Regions from separate parts of the Homo sapiens genome. Here region 2 is linked to region 1. Evidence: promoter capture Hi-C in human tissues and cell types (Jung and others, 2019). All regions are on one chromosome and are shown on one strand. The core of a region is centred on a gene start or on the middle of the fragment in contact, and the rest is flanking DNA. Distances in the headings are between cores, read along the strand shown.

The links. The method cuts DNA at HindIII sites, captures the fragments that hold promoters and counts their contacts. A contact is called where the count stands out against the background at its distance.
Region 2: a fragment that was not itself captured here is called in contact with the fragment with the promoter of DYNC1H1 in region 1 in 1 of the 25 tissues and cell types used here (dorsolateral prefrontal cortex).

The regions. Positions count from the first base shown.
Region 1 is chr14:101,959,957-101,966,336 of GRCh38, reverse strand. DYNC1H1 (dynein cytoplasmic 1 heavy chain 1) reads right to left here and starts at 1,764. Exons shown (of 78, transcript NM_001376.5): 1 at 1,390-1,764. The coding sequence starts at 1,645. RefSeq lists silencers at 1,072-1,281, 1,772-1,931, 4,876-5,052 and enhancers at 807-1,416, 1,417-2,027, 2,072-2,211, 4,894-4,953. The HindIII fragment of the contact is 2,222 bases long and covers 1,692-3,913 here.
Region 2 is chr14:102,290,710-102,297,964 of GRCh38, reverse strand. The region is part of intron 1 of MOK (MOK protein kinase); the gene reads left to right. Among named protein-coding and RNA genes, the nearest start is that of MOK, 11 kb to the left of the region's middle. The HindIII fragment of the contact is 5,250 bases long and covers 769-6,018 here.

The DNA.
Region 1 (6,380 bases), core at 515-3,014:
CTAAATATGCTCAAATGGTTTATTTGCCTTGAACATTCCACGTGGATATAAGAAAAAAATATTCTTTTACACCCTGCTAATCTCTGGCAGGAAACCAAGGCTACAGGGAAGCATCTTCTGAGTAAGAATAGCCTTTGAAAGAAACAAACCATCAGAAACACAGTGTGTGTTAAGGATGGGGCAGACAGTACAGGGTCTCTCACTGAGAGAACCATACAGTTTTTTGAAATTTTAAGAAGCTTGTTGGCAAATATTTTTAGACAATCTCCAATCCCTAGAGGCTAACCTTGGACATCATCCTTAGGTTCTTAGATGGACACGCCACACCCAAAGTGGTTGTAATGGGCTACAAAGTGGTTGTAATGAATCCATGAGAAAGCCTGCCTGCAGGCAAGCCCCAGACTTAGATGAATGTAACCTTGCTGGTGGGCGATCATTATTTGAGGAGACAGCTGGAACACGCTAACTCTAGCCTCTTCCCCCTACTAGGTGCCTAACCTGAATCTTTTTTTTTTTTTTTAATCTGTAAAATTAGACTCAAATATTACAGGGTTATCATTAACATCATCGAAGCATTAAACAAATATGAGGTATGATCAGTGAAAACAAGCAGTGGATGGGGAGCTGAGACACTGAGTCTAGTCTCAGGACTAAGATTAGCTGGTGACCTTGGGTGAAATCACTTAACCTGAGCCTCAGTTTCCTCAGGTGTAAAATCAGGATACACCCGTTCAGCAAGGATGCTGTGAGAGCATCCACCTACAACAGTGATGCTCGCAGGCCCGGGGCTGGCACCGTCGCTCTGTGGGCCTCGGCCTCTGGGTCCCCACAAGGCAGGGCTGGGACACCCGCCCGACCTCCTCCCGAACCAGAACCCCGGCTGCCCCCAGCTCCGCGGGTCTGCCCCCGACACATCCCTCCCGAAGGCCACTTGGCTTGGACACAAATCGAAACCGAAAAGCTCATGTGACACTGGAGGCAGGGATGCGGCCTCGCCCGCTCTCAGCCCAGGGAGACGCTGTCTCCACCCAACTCGGCCATCTTGAGAGGCCCGAGCAGACAAAGCGACCCCATTGTTTTGGGTGACGGCAGACGGGGACCCCTTTCCCCTCCCCGCGACCAGGAGCGGGGCGCCCTGGGGGCTCCGGGCCGGGCAGTGGGTGTGGCGAGGGCGAGCCCCGGGCGCCGCGCCGGCCTCTGCGGGGCGTCTGCGGCCCTGGGGACCCGGCCGGCGGGACGTCTGCGGCCGCCGGGCTCTGCCCATCCAGGGGTCATCTGCAGCTGCCGGGCTCCTCCCATCCCGGGGACATCTGCGACCCCGGAGGACCTGGCAGGCCCTGCATTCCGCGAGGCCTGGCTCTGGCGACCCTGCCCTCCGCGGCCCCGCACCTTTGAGCGTGGAGCGCTCCACCAGCACCGTGTGGACCTGCGGGTCCGAAAGGAACTTGCGCATCTGCTCCAGGGCGCTCTTCTCCTCCAGCGCCGCCTCCAGCGCGGCCGGCGCCTCGCCGCCGTCCTCCAGCAGCAGCGGCACCAGCTTGCGCAGGTGCTTCTGCAGCACCGACACGTCCGCCACATTCTGCACGGCCGACACTTCCAATCCGGCCGAGCCGTCCTCGCCGCCGCCGCCCCCGGGCTCCGACATGGTGTCGCGCTCGGGACCTTCCAGGAGCGATGAGAAGGCGGCCGCGACTCAGCGAGACAGCCAGCAAGAGACAGAAACGGCCGCCGGAAGCCGGACCGTCCGCTAGCCCACCGCAGACTGAGGAGAGCGGGAGCCGGCTCCGCCCTAAAGGCAGCCACTGCCAGGTGGCCCCGCCCCGCCCCGCCGGCCGCAGCCGCCGCAGCCACCCGCGCTCGCTCGCGGCCTTAGCGTCACGGCGCCGCGCGTGCGCGGGGGGCGGGCCCGGCGATGTCGCCGCGCGCCCTTCTGGGACTTGTAGTCTCGGCGCTGGTCGGGGCCCGCAGCCTCCGCACTGCGAGTCCTAGGAGATGGGGACTTGGCTCAACGTCCTGGCTCGGCGCCCGGGCTTGGCGAGGTTGGTCAGGGGCTGCGTCTGTCTTCTTCACTGCTGTGGACGCAGCGAATAGCACACAGCCAGAGAAACTTTATAGTGAATCAGTGATGTTATTGGCGAGAGCTAACGTTTAGTGAGCGCTTAGCCTGTGCCCGGCGTTGTTCTAAGCCCCTTAACCTCTCATTAAATGTTCTCTCATTGAATGAATGAATGACTACGTATCAGGTACCAAAATATAGGCACGACAGATGTGTTATTAGATATAGACCGGGAGATTGAGGATACTTTTCAGAGGGGGAGGAGATGAGGGGCGTGCTCAGAGAGTCCCATTGCCAGGCTGGAAACGGACAGCTGGGGAGGGGGCCTTCGGGGCAGTGTAAGGTTAAGCCAGGAATGACACCTTCACTGTACGTAAAGCCAAGCTGTGATGGGATCTGGTTCCTAATGACAAAAATCATTGTCCCCGAGGACGCTGTGAGGACCAAGAGGGAGACCTACTGAGAACAGCTACCTCCAGCAATGGCTCTCCTCCAGCCCCCTAGAGCTGGCACTGTCATTCTGTGGGCCTCAGTATCTGGGTCCGTACAAGGCAGGGGCTGGGTTGCCTGCCCACCAAGTTTCCCCCTAGTTCGGACCCACCACGACCTCCTCCCCTACACCATGACTACATAAGAGCCAGAATCCAGGCTGCCCAGCTGGGTGCGGTGGCTCACACCTGTAATCCTAGCATTTTGAGAGGCTGAGATGGGAGGATTGCTTGAGGCCAGAAGTTCCAAGACCAGCCTGGTCAACCTAGCGAGACCCTATATCTATGTGTATTTAAAAATTAAGAATTTTGTAAAATAATAAAAATAATAGAATCCAGGCTGCCCATCTTTGTAGTTTAGAGATGGTAGGTTCTTCTAAGGGGTAGTAATTGGCCTTTGAAAGTTCACATTCATAACTTCTTTCTTAAGTTGGGTGGAGAGAGGGAAGCCAATGGCGTTTTTTTTTTTTTTGGTTTTTTTGTTTTTTTTAAACATCAAAGTGCACTGTCAGAGTGCCGAGTCCTGATTGGTGGAATGATGATGGTATGATTTGATTCTCCCAAATCATCTTTGAAAAACTGTGAAACATACAATAAGCTTATTCCTTGCCTAATTACCGGTTGCTGGGTCCCAGGGGGTTGCTGGAACACGGAGACTAATCAGATGATTCTTGTCTTTAAGGAGCATGTGGAAGAGGGGACAGATGAATACCCCATCTTCCTGCTCTCCATCAGTCCGCCCTGGTGTGATGTGCCTAAGCAGTTCCGAGTAATCTTCCTGGAAAAAATAAATAGGCAACTGCGATGAGTTTGTGCAAGGATCCTAATGGTAATGAATAATAATAACACACCACTGACAGCGAACGCTGAGTGTTCACTGCGTGCTAGGCACCATGCAGAGGGTTTCCCCTCACATGTACTTTAGGGGTAGAAAGAGGGACAAAGAGGAAAGTCTATTAGGTGCAGATCTGTGAACTCTGAATAGGCCATCCACCATCTGAGACTCAGAAACCTGCAGGGACCTGGCCGATGGGCAGGCTGCATGCTGGCTGCACCATGAGTCAGCACCAGACTGGGAGACGCAGCCACTCAGGGATCCAAGGGACTCAAACATCTGCAACCTGGCCCCAGGCCAAGAGAACAAACTGCAGGCTCCGGATTTGCGGCCCTGTAGGATAGGCTCAAAATGAAACATGTTTGTTATTTCTAAGTGGATGGGAACTGAAAGAACCCGAACAATCAGTGTACAAGGATTCATGAATGGACCAAACATGCTTGCTTTTTGTTCTTGAAAGATGTTTGTTGTATTTAATATATAACGAGAAGAGTGGTCAACGCTGACTGGGTGCTGAGCACTTTAAGTGCATTACCTGGGTGGCTGGCTGGGCTGTGCCAGGGTTGAAGGGTGTGGGGAGCTTCTTTCAAGGTGCCCCTTCTGCCTCCTGGCACAGGACTCTGGCTCCAGCACACCCCAAGCTGACCCTGGTGGGGGTAGGGCCCCTCACCCAAACCTGGCCTCTCCCGTCTCTTGTTCTGCTGCCTCAGCTTTCTCCTGTCTGTGGTAGAGTCTGCTTGGACAGACTCTGGGCAGGGCAGGGGGCAGGGCAAGCTGGAGAGAGAATTCGTTCTAGGTTGATGTGGGATGATAGTGGCTGGTAGGGCGCTTGTATCCTATTGGAAATCCATGATGAGATCCCATTCATTCCCACCCTTCTCTTAACAATGTCTCCTTAAGTCCAAGTCTCAAGTCGGGTGCCCAGTTTCATACCATCCTTCCTCTCCCTCTCACAACCTTCGGGCAGGACCAACCCCCTCAGAGGAACCCCTGCTGCCCCAGCCCTTTCAGGCTCTGTGCCCAGGATCTCCCCTCCACTCCCTGGAAATTCCACATTTGGCCAGGTGTGGTGGTGCACACCCTTGTTCCCAGCTACTCAAAAGGTTGAGGTGGAGGTCGAGGCTGCAGTGAGCTGTGATCTCACTACTGCACTCCAGCCTGTGCAAGAGAGTGAGACCCCGTCTCTAAATAATAATAATAATAATAATAATAATAATAATAATAAATTTAAAGAAAAAGAATTTCCATCTTGGGCTCATTCGTTCATTCATTCATCCCCACTTGTGAGAGCAGGGAGGTCTAAGCTTCTCGGGATTCTCAGCACCAGCGGGGCCTGGACCAAAGCGTGCACTTGGTTGGTGGGTGTGAAACTAATGCCTTACCCCGAGGAAGGGGCGCTGGCGGTGGCCGTGGGGACACGGGGTGCACTGTGGATCAAGACCTTCCTGGCCACATCTCTGGGGCTGTCAGGGTGCTGCTGGAGGGCAAGGCTGGGACTTCACAGGTTCGCAGGGCTGCAGGACGCTTTCTGAGGAAGCTCATTCCAGGATCCACCCCCTTTCTGTCTTGATTCCTTGTCAAATGAGCCTCAGGGTGAGGCTTGAACCAGATCTGGTTCCTGGAGGCTTCGACCCCAGCAGGTTGGAGTTTGAAGCGCGTGGTGAGAACGGAACGGTCTCTTGGCGCCGTCTAGTGGCAGCAAAGGATGTGTCGCATGGAATTTTCTTCTGCTTGTAGGGGACCCACCTCCCCAGCCTGCTGCCCATCCATCCTGGTGACAGCAGGCTCACCTGCCCAAGGTCACCTGGCTTGCTTGTCCAGGGTCACAGAACAAGTAATGACAATGAAAATGCCAGCATGCACCCCACTGCCCATGGGGAAGATGTTAGTGAATCTTGTCTCTACCTGGGCAGACAATTCCCACCTGGCTCTCCTGACCCCTGGATTAACCCAGGCTGCCTGCAGACCCTCAAAACCTCTGACACCGCCCTGGCCCTTCCCTCTGGTAGTGTGTGGCCCCTTCTCTTACCAAAGGCTGTCGGTGTCCCCAGCCAGGACCACTACTCCCTGGGTGTGCTGCCTCCATCTCCTCTCAGGGTTATCACCTCTGAAATTCTCCCCTCGCTCCCAGATGTTCTCTCTCTCTCCTAGATTTTTTCCACCGATGTCTGAGCTATTCTATCCCTTCTTTAAAGGAAAAGAAGGAAGCCCTACCGTAGCCCACTGCCAGCACCTCTCCACTGCTTTGCTGCCCTTTCCAGCAAAACTCCTTGAGAATAAGCATATGTGGGCACTGCCTTTCCCACCCCATCCCCACATTCATGGGCAGGCACTCTTGGCAAGGTCACCAGTGACTTCCGCGTGGCCAAATCCAGTGACTAGTTCTCAGTCCTCATCTTGCTTGACCCGTGGACACACTGATGCAGCCGGCACTCCCTCCTTCTCTGAACACCACCTTCACCTGGCTTTTGGTGGCCGCACTCTCCAGATCCTCCTCGTCACCAAGGTTCCTTCTCAGTCTCCTCTGCTGGATCCTGCTCTTCGCGACCTCTGAAGGTTGGAGGGGCCCAAGGCTTGGCCCTCAGGCTGGTTTGTGTTCTATCAGCACGCCCTCTCCAGCGCCCTCTAGCCTTGGATTTTCTTTTTTCTTTCTTTCTTTTCTTTCTTTTTTTTTTTTTTGAGATGGAGTTTCGCTCTTGTTGCCCAGGCTGGAGTGCAATGGCTCGATCTCCGCTCATCGCAACCTCTGCCTCCCGAGTTCAAGCGATTCTCCTGCCTCAGCCTCCCAAGTAGCTGGAATTATAGGCATGTGCCACCACACGTGGCTAATTTTGTATTTTTAGTAGAAACGGGGTTTCTCCATGTTGGTCAGGCTGGTCTCGAGCTCCCGACCTCAGGTGATCCGCCCGCCTCAGTCTCCCAAAGTGCTGGGATAACAGGTGTGAGCCACCGCACCCGGCCCTTTTCTTTTTTTTTTTTTGAGACAGGATCTCACTCTGTC
Region 2 (7,255 bases), core at 2,144-4,643, 330 kb before region 1:
GGCTCAGGCATGGCGGGATGCAGGTCTGAAGCCCTGCCTCGTGGGTAGCAGCTGAGGCCCAGAAAGAATTTGAGCACAGGCAGGGCCGGTGGGCCGGCACTGCAGGGTATCCGGTGCACCCTCAGCAGCTGCTGGCCCGGGTGCTAAACCCGTCACTGCCCGGGGCCAGCAGCACCAGCTGGCCGCACCTAGTGCGGGGCCCGCTGAGCCCACACCCACCCAGAACTCATGCTGGCCCGCAAGCACCACGTGCAGCCCCGGTTCCCGCCTGCACCTCTCCCTCCACACCTCGCGGTGCCTCTTCCTCCACACCTCCCCGCAAGCTGAGGGAGCCGGCTCTGGCCCCGGCCAGCCCAGGGAGGGGCTCCCACAGTGCAGCGGCGAGCTGAAGGGCTCCTCAAGCGTGGCCAGAGTGGGCACCGAGGCCGAGGAGGTGCCGAGAGCCAGCGAGGGCTTCAAGGGCTGCCAGCACGCTATCACCTCTCACTAGTATTTTCATGGAATCAAAAAAGGTACCTCAAATAATCCTTTTCATCTCCTTCTGTGAGCATCAATTTTTGTTTTTATTTTATTTGTTTATTTATTTGTTATTGTTATTATTATTTTTGAGACGGAGTCTTGCAGTGTGGACCAGGCTGGAGTGCAGTGACGTAATCTTGGCTCACTGTGAGCTCCGCCTCCTGGGTTCATGCCATTCTCCTGCCTCAGCCTCCAGAGTAGCTGGGACTACAGGCGCCCGCCACCACACCCTGCTAATTTTTTTATACTTTTAGTAGAGATGGGGTTTCACCGTGTTAGCCAGGATGGTCTTGATCTCCTGACCTCGTGATCTGCCCACCTTGGCCTCCCAAAGTGCTGGTATTACAGGCGTGAGTCACCGTGCCCAGCCTATTTATTATTATTTTTTGAGACAGAGTCTCGCTGTGTTGCCCAGGCTGGAGTGCAGTGGTGTGATTTCAGCTCACTGCAACCTCTGCCTCCTGGGTTCAAGGTATTCTCCCACCTCAGCCTCCCAAGTAGATGGGACTACAAGTGTCTGCCACCACGCCTGGGTAATTTTTGTATTTTTAGTAGAGACAGGGTTTCACCATATTGGCCAGGCTTGTCTCGATCTCCTGACCTTGTGATCCACCTGCCTCAGCCTCCCAAAGTGCTGGGATTACAGGTGTGAGCCATTTTATTTTACTTATTTATTATTATTATTTTTTTAGAGATGAGGGTCTCACCATGTTGCCTAGACTGGTCTCAAAATCCTGGGATCTGGTGGTCCTCCTGTCTCGGCCTCCCAATATGTTGGAATTACAGCTGTGCCTGGCCACTTTCTGTTTTTATAAGTAGATGCATTATCTAGCAACTGTTTCTCTTGAAATAAAAACAAAATGAGGTAAACTTAATACTGGCTTTGTGATAAATCCAAACCATAGAAGGTTTTGAGTTAGCCTCAGGACCTTCCCCTATTTGCCACAGTAAATCCTGGTTAACATTGTCTTAGATGGACATTCATACATTTTCTATGCATATTTTTGTGTATATACACACAAGTTTTATATATTGGTGTGTGTGTATATACATATAAATATATGGTTGTTCCTTACCCAAAATCAAATGGGATTACATTAAATATGTTGTATTGTAGCTTGTAGGATGATGCATCTATGAAGATGCTTGAACATAGTTTTTTTTTTGTAATAGATCTTGCTATTTTTTTTTTTTTTTTTTGAGACGTACTCTCAGTCTGTTGCCCAGGCTGGAGTGCAGTGGCGTGATTTTGGCTCACTGTACTCTCCACCTTCTGGGTTCAAGCGATTCTCCTGCCTCAGCCTTCCAGGTAGCTGAGATTACAGGCAGGCACCACCACGCCTGGCTAATTTTTGTATTTTTAGTAGAGACTCGGTTTCACCATATTGGCCAGGCTGGTCTTGAACTCCTGACCTCAGGTGATCGACCCGTCTTGGTCTCCCAAAGTGCTGGGATTACAGGCATGAGCCACTATGCCTAGCCAGGTGTTGCTATGTTGACCAGGCTGGTCATGAACTCCTGATCTGAAGTGATCCTCCCATCTTGCACTCCCAAAGTGTTAGGATTACAGATGTGAGCCATCACGCCCAGTCCAGAACATAGATCTTTGAATAATTCTTCAAGTTTATTAACAGTGGACTTACTGGGTTAATAGGTGTAATTTCAATTTTAAAATTTTAAGAATTTTTGAATAGTTTTGTGTTCTTTTCTGTTTTCACAATGTTTAGTAATTCAGGTCATAATTTTCCTCACTATATCAAATAATTAATTGTGTACAGCTCCTCTTCACTGAAGCTTCCTGACCTTGTTTTAGTAATTTGGTTTGAACTGTTTAATCTCTCGAAGAGAATGGAAATTAGTAAGAAGCTGAAATCTTCTTCCTCGCATACTCTAGTTGTAGTCAGCAATTAACCTCCCCCAATTCTTTTCCTCCCTCTACTGGTGAAGCCCCATAGCTCTGATGCCTGTCACCCACCCTGATTAAGAACTTTATAAACAGCACATGAATAAAAATGTTTGGACTTGAACGTGACAAGTTTTGCATTTCACAAAAAGTGAATTTGACCTTCATTTTCACTTGTTAAATAAGGCTTAAATTCCACTTCAACAAACAAGCCTTGGTTTAATAAATGTGCATAGAATCTTAATACAGAGGTATTCATTTATCTCCCTTGTTCTCCCTTTTTCATCCAGCTCTGTTATTTTAACCCCTTTGTCCTTGAGTCTGTTTTTCTTTTTGTTTTGGTGCTTGTTTACTCTATTCCCAATAATGTGGGGCATGACGTTCATTTACAGTATCATAGCTCTGTTCCCTTCAGAGCTTTGTATCATGCTTTGTCTGCATTTCAGTGTTTCTTGTTTAATTTTGAAGGCCTATGAAAATACGCCAGATCTTGTTGGAGAGAACAGGAACTTTTCCCAGGAATTTTTTCATAGAGGTGGTTTCTTTTTTAATCCCTGCCTCTTATCCTTGTTTTATACCCCATACTTTCTGCCTACTAGAAGAGCCATGAGGGAAACAAGTGACCCCTTTATCTACCAACAGACACCTCCAGTGCGGCAAGTTCCATTTATTGCTGGTTGTGATGGTTTCGAGCCAGCCTGGGACATTGGCACACACTGAATTTGTGTGCTGAAACCACTTTACAGTTCACAGTTGACCTATTTTTTTTAAAGCAAGTCTGCTTAATTTATCTGTGATGAAACACAAATTGGAATTGATTGTGTAAATTCCCTCTTCTCTTAAATCTGAATTCCTTAGTCCACAGCTTGACTTTGAGTGATTGACCTCCAATCCCTCCTTTGATTTTCTTTTTTTTTTCTTTTTGAGACAAGGTCTCTCGCTGTCTGTCACTCAGGCTGGAGTACAGTGGCACCATCATGGCTCACTGCAGCCTTGACTTCCCGGGCTCAGAGGATTCTCCTATCTCAGCCTCCCAAGTGGCCGGGGCTACAGGCACGCATCACGATGCCTGGCTAATTTTTTTTTTTTTTTTTTTTGAGACGGAGTCTCGCTCTATCACCCTGGCTGGAGTGCAGTGGCGCTATCTCGGCTCACTGCCAGCTCCGCCTCCCGGGTTCATGCCATTTTCCTGCCTCAGCCTCCCGAGTAGCTGGGACTACACGTGCCCACCACCACGCCTGGCTAATTTTTTGTATTTTTAGTAGAGACGGGGTTTCACCATGTTAGCCAGGATGGTGTTGATCTCCTGACCTCGTGATCCGCCCGCCTTGGCCTCCCAAAGTGCTGGGATTACAGGCATGAGCCACCGCACCCGGCCTCACCTGGCTAATTTTTTTGTATTTTTGGTAGAGACAAGATTTCACCATGTTACCCAGGCTGGTCTCAAACTCCTGGGATCAGGTGATCCGCCTGCCTAAGCCTCCCAGAGTGCTGGGATTACAGGCATGAGCCACCACACCTGGCCCCTTCCCGTGATCTTTATGACTGTCTTCCTTTAAAAGGATATTGTAGTTTTAAGACAGTTCATTTTAAGTTCATGTTTTTCGTGGCACTTAGCCAACACTTTCACTGATTTCTTAAAATTCTTGAAATGTTCACCTTTACACACATTTAAAGTAATGTGTATTCATTGCGAACATTGAGTAATGTAGATAATTATAATGAAGAAAATTTAAATCACCTTCAGTCCCACTCAGATACATTAAAAAAATTACATATTTATATTCAGTCTTTTTCTTTTTTTTCTTTTCTTTTCTTTTTTTTTTTTTTTTTTTTTTTTTGTGATGGAGTTTCGCTCTTGTTGCCCAGGCTGGAGTGCAATGGTGCTATGATCTTGGCTCACCGCAACCTCCGCCTCCTGGGTTCAAGTGATTCTCCTGCCTCAGCCTCCCGAGTAGCTGGGATTACAGGCATGCACCACCACACCTGGCTAATTTTGTATTTTTAGTAGAGACAGGGTTTCTCCATGTTGGTCATGCTGGTCTCGAACTCCTGACCTCAGGTGATCCGCCTGCCTCAGCCTCCCAAAGTGCTGGGATTACAGGCGTGAGCCACCGCACCCAGCTGTATTCAGTCTTTCTCTGTGCATGTGTTGTGTGTATGATCATTATCATCCTTTTTTTCACTTAACATGAAATTATGGCTGAACATTTTCCCATGTCATGAAATATTATTTGAAAGCATCGTTATCAATGGTTACATAATATTTCAGTCTGTGGCTATTTCATAGTTTGTTAGAACATTTCCTTGATACTGGATATTTAAGTTTCTGGCATTCTTACTTTTGTGACACTGTGAATACCATCTTTGTTTATGAAGTTTTTTGTTTGTTCATTTGTTTTTTGTTTTTGAGATGGAATCTAGCTCTGTCACCCAGGCTGGAGTGCAGTGGCACAATCTCCGCTCACTGCAACCTCCGCCTCCCAGGTTCAAGCGATTCTTATGCCTCAGCCTTGCTAGCAGCTGGGATTGCAGGTGTGCGCCACCCTCCTGGCGAATTTTTGTATTTTTAGTAGAGATGGGGTTTCATTATGTTGGCCAGGCTGGTTTGGAACCCTTGACCTCAGGTGATCTGCCCACCTCAGCCTCACAAAGTGCTGGGATTACAGGCATGAGCTACCACACCCAGCCTCAATGTGGCTGTTAATGTACAGATTCACTCATATACAAATTGAATGGTTTTAATACTAAAATAATATTTAATTCCCCAAGCTTTTTTTTTTTCCTGTTGGTTTTTGTTTCTCTAAGTGTAATGGCACAAGAGAGAACAGATTGTGGACTTTCTATTTAAGAGGTTTATGGCTTTATGAGGAGAAGGTGCATAGTGGAGCATGAGCAGTTCTGTAACAGGAGGACAAGGTGCACACAGAAGGAAGAAAGACATCTGCTTGAAAGCTTCCCAGGCCGGTCCTGGAAGATTGGAATCCAGAGCACCATGTATTTGGTATTACACACTATGTACTCCATAATTAGTTGTTTTTTTGTTTTGTTTTGTTTTGTTTTGTTTTTTGAGATGGAGTCTTGCTCTGTTGCCCAGGCTAGAGTGCAGTGGTGCTATCTCGGCTCACTGCAAGCTCCACCTCCTGGGTTCACGCCATTCTCCTGCCTCAGCCTCCTGAGTAGCTGGGACTACAGCTGTCTGCCACCATGCCCGGCTAATTTTTCACATTTTTAGTAGAGATGGGGTTTCACCGTGTTAGCCAGGATGGTCTCGATCTCCTGACCTTGTGATCCACCCGCCTCAGCCTCCCAAAGTGCTAGGATTACAGGCATGAGCCACCGCACCCGGCCTATGTACTCCATAATTTGACCATTGATATTTTCTAAACAAAAATGTTCCATTTCCTCCCTCCCTCTTTTATAAGGAAAGGACCTAAAATTAGGGGTATAGGGACATACTGTAAATTCTCAAGACTAGGGATTACGTCTTAATGATATTTGTGTCTACAGTGCATGGCACAGTGTGTGGTATATAGCTGGTGCTAAGAAGTCTTTATTATTATTATTGTTAGTTTTTTTTTTTTTGAGACAGAGTTTTGCTCTGTTGCCCAGGCTTCAGTACAGTGGCGTGATCTCGGCTCACTGCAACCTCCGCCTCCCAGGTTCAGACAGTTCTTCTGTCTCAGCCTCCCAAGTAGCTGGGATTACAGGCACAGGCCACCATGCCTGGAAAATTTTTTGTATTTTTAGTAGAGATGGGGTTTCACCATGTTGGCCAGGCTGGTCTCAAACTCCCGATCTGAGGTGATCTGCCCACCTTGGCCTCCCAAAGTGCTGGGATTACAGGTGTGAGCCACCGCACTTGGCTGCAAGCAGACCTTTCTAAGGAGAGAAGTCCCAGGCCTGCTGTGTGAGCTCTTCTGCACAATGAAGACACTGATCTTCTTGTAGAGAAATTTCTGGGCTTTCCAGTTTAATTCATTTAAGAGAAGGGGTAAATTTTGGTGGTGTTTTAGCAAGCAACAGCTATCCCTTGACTAGTATGAACAGGGCCTGGTAGGTCAGTATGAGGGTCTGCTTGAGGGCAGAAGATGTTTAGGCTGTTGAATTTTCCCACAAAGTTTCAAGTTTGGAGGCTCCTCAAGAAACTTGTCAAAATTACTTAATGAGGTTTTAAACTGTACAAATTAGTGGTCAGGGCCAGGGCCTGTATTTTGGTCCATTTCTTTTGCAGAAGCTTCTTGGAGATGCACCAAAGAATCTTTATTGCCTGGTTTTAGGATTTAATGGAATTTAATTAGGTTTCCAGTTGTAGAGAGGCTCTGGGACTTAGTTAAGCTATAGTTGTCAAGCAAGTTATGGCTTCCGGTTTTTTGTCAGAAGGGATATGGTACCGTGCTCTGTCCTGAAGCCTCAGCGGGGCTCACTCCTGCCTTACATTAGCCAGTTTCTCCCAGAAGGCAAGTGAGAACAATAAAGCTAGCAGAATAGTTCTGAAACCCTGCCTTGCTGGGAGCTAGATTAGTTCCTCTTTTATTCAGGGAAAACTTGGATAAAAGGGATTCTAATAGCATAGTTTGAAGATCTTCGGTTTGGGGATCTAGAGCGGTGCTGGGGGATGTTAACTGGTGTTCTCTGGTTGTATCTCACACCCCTCTCATATACCCCACCTCCATTTGGAGACTCATCTCATATGCAGGGAAAGGCATTGAGGAATTCTGCAAACACATTTTGCCGTATTTAACTCTGTATTTCCTAAATTTATTTGCTTATGGAACCCTCTTTTGTGGAATACCCATTAGGGTTCAGGGATCCTCGTGTTTTGTAGTACTC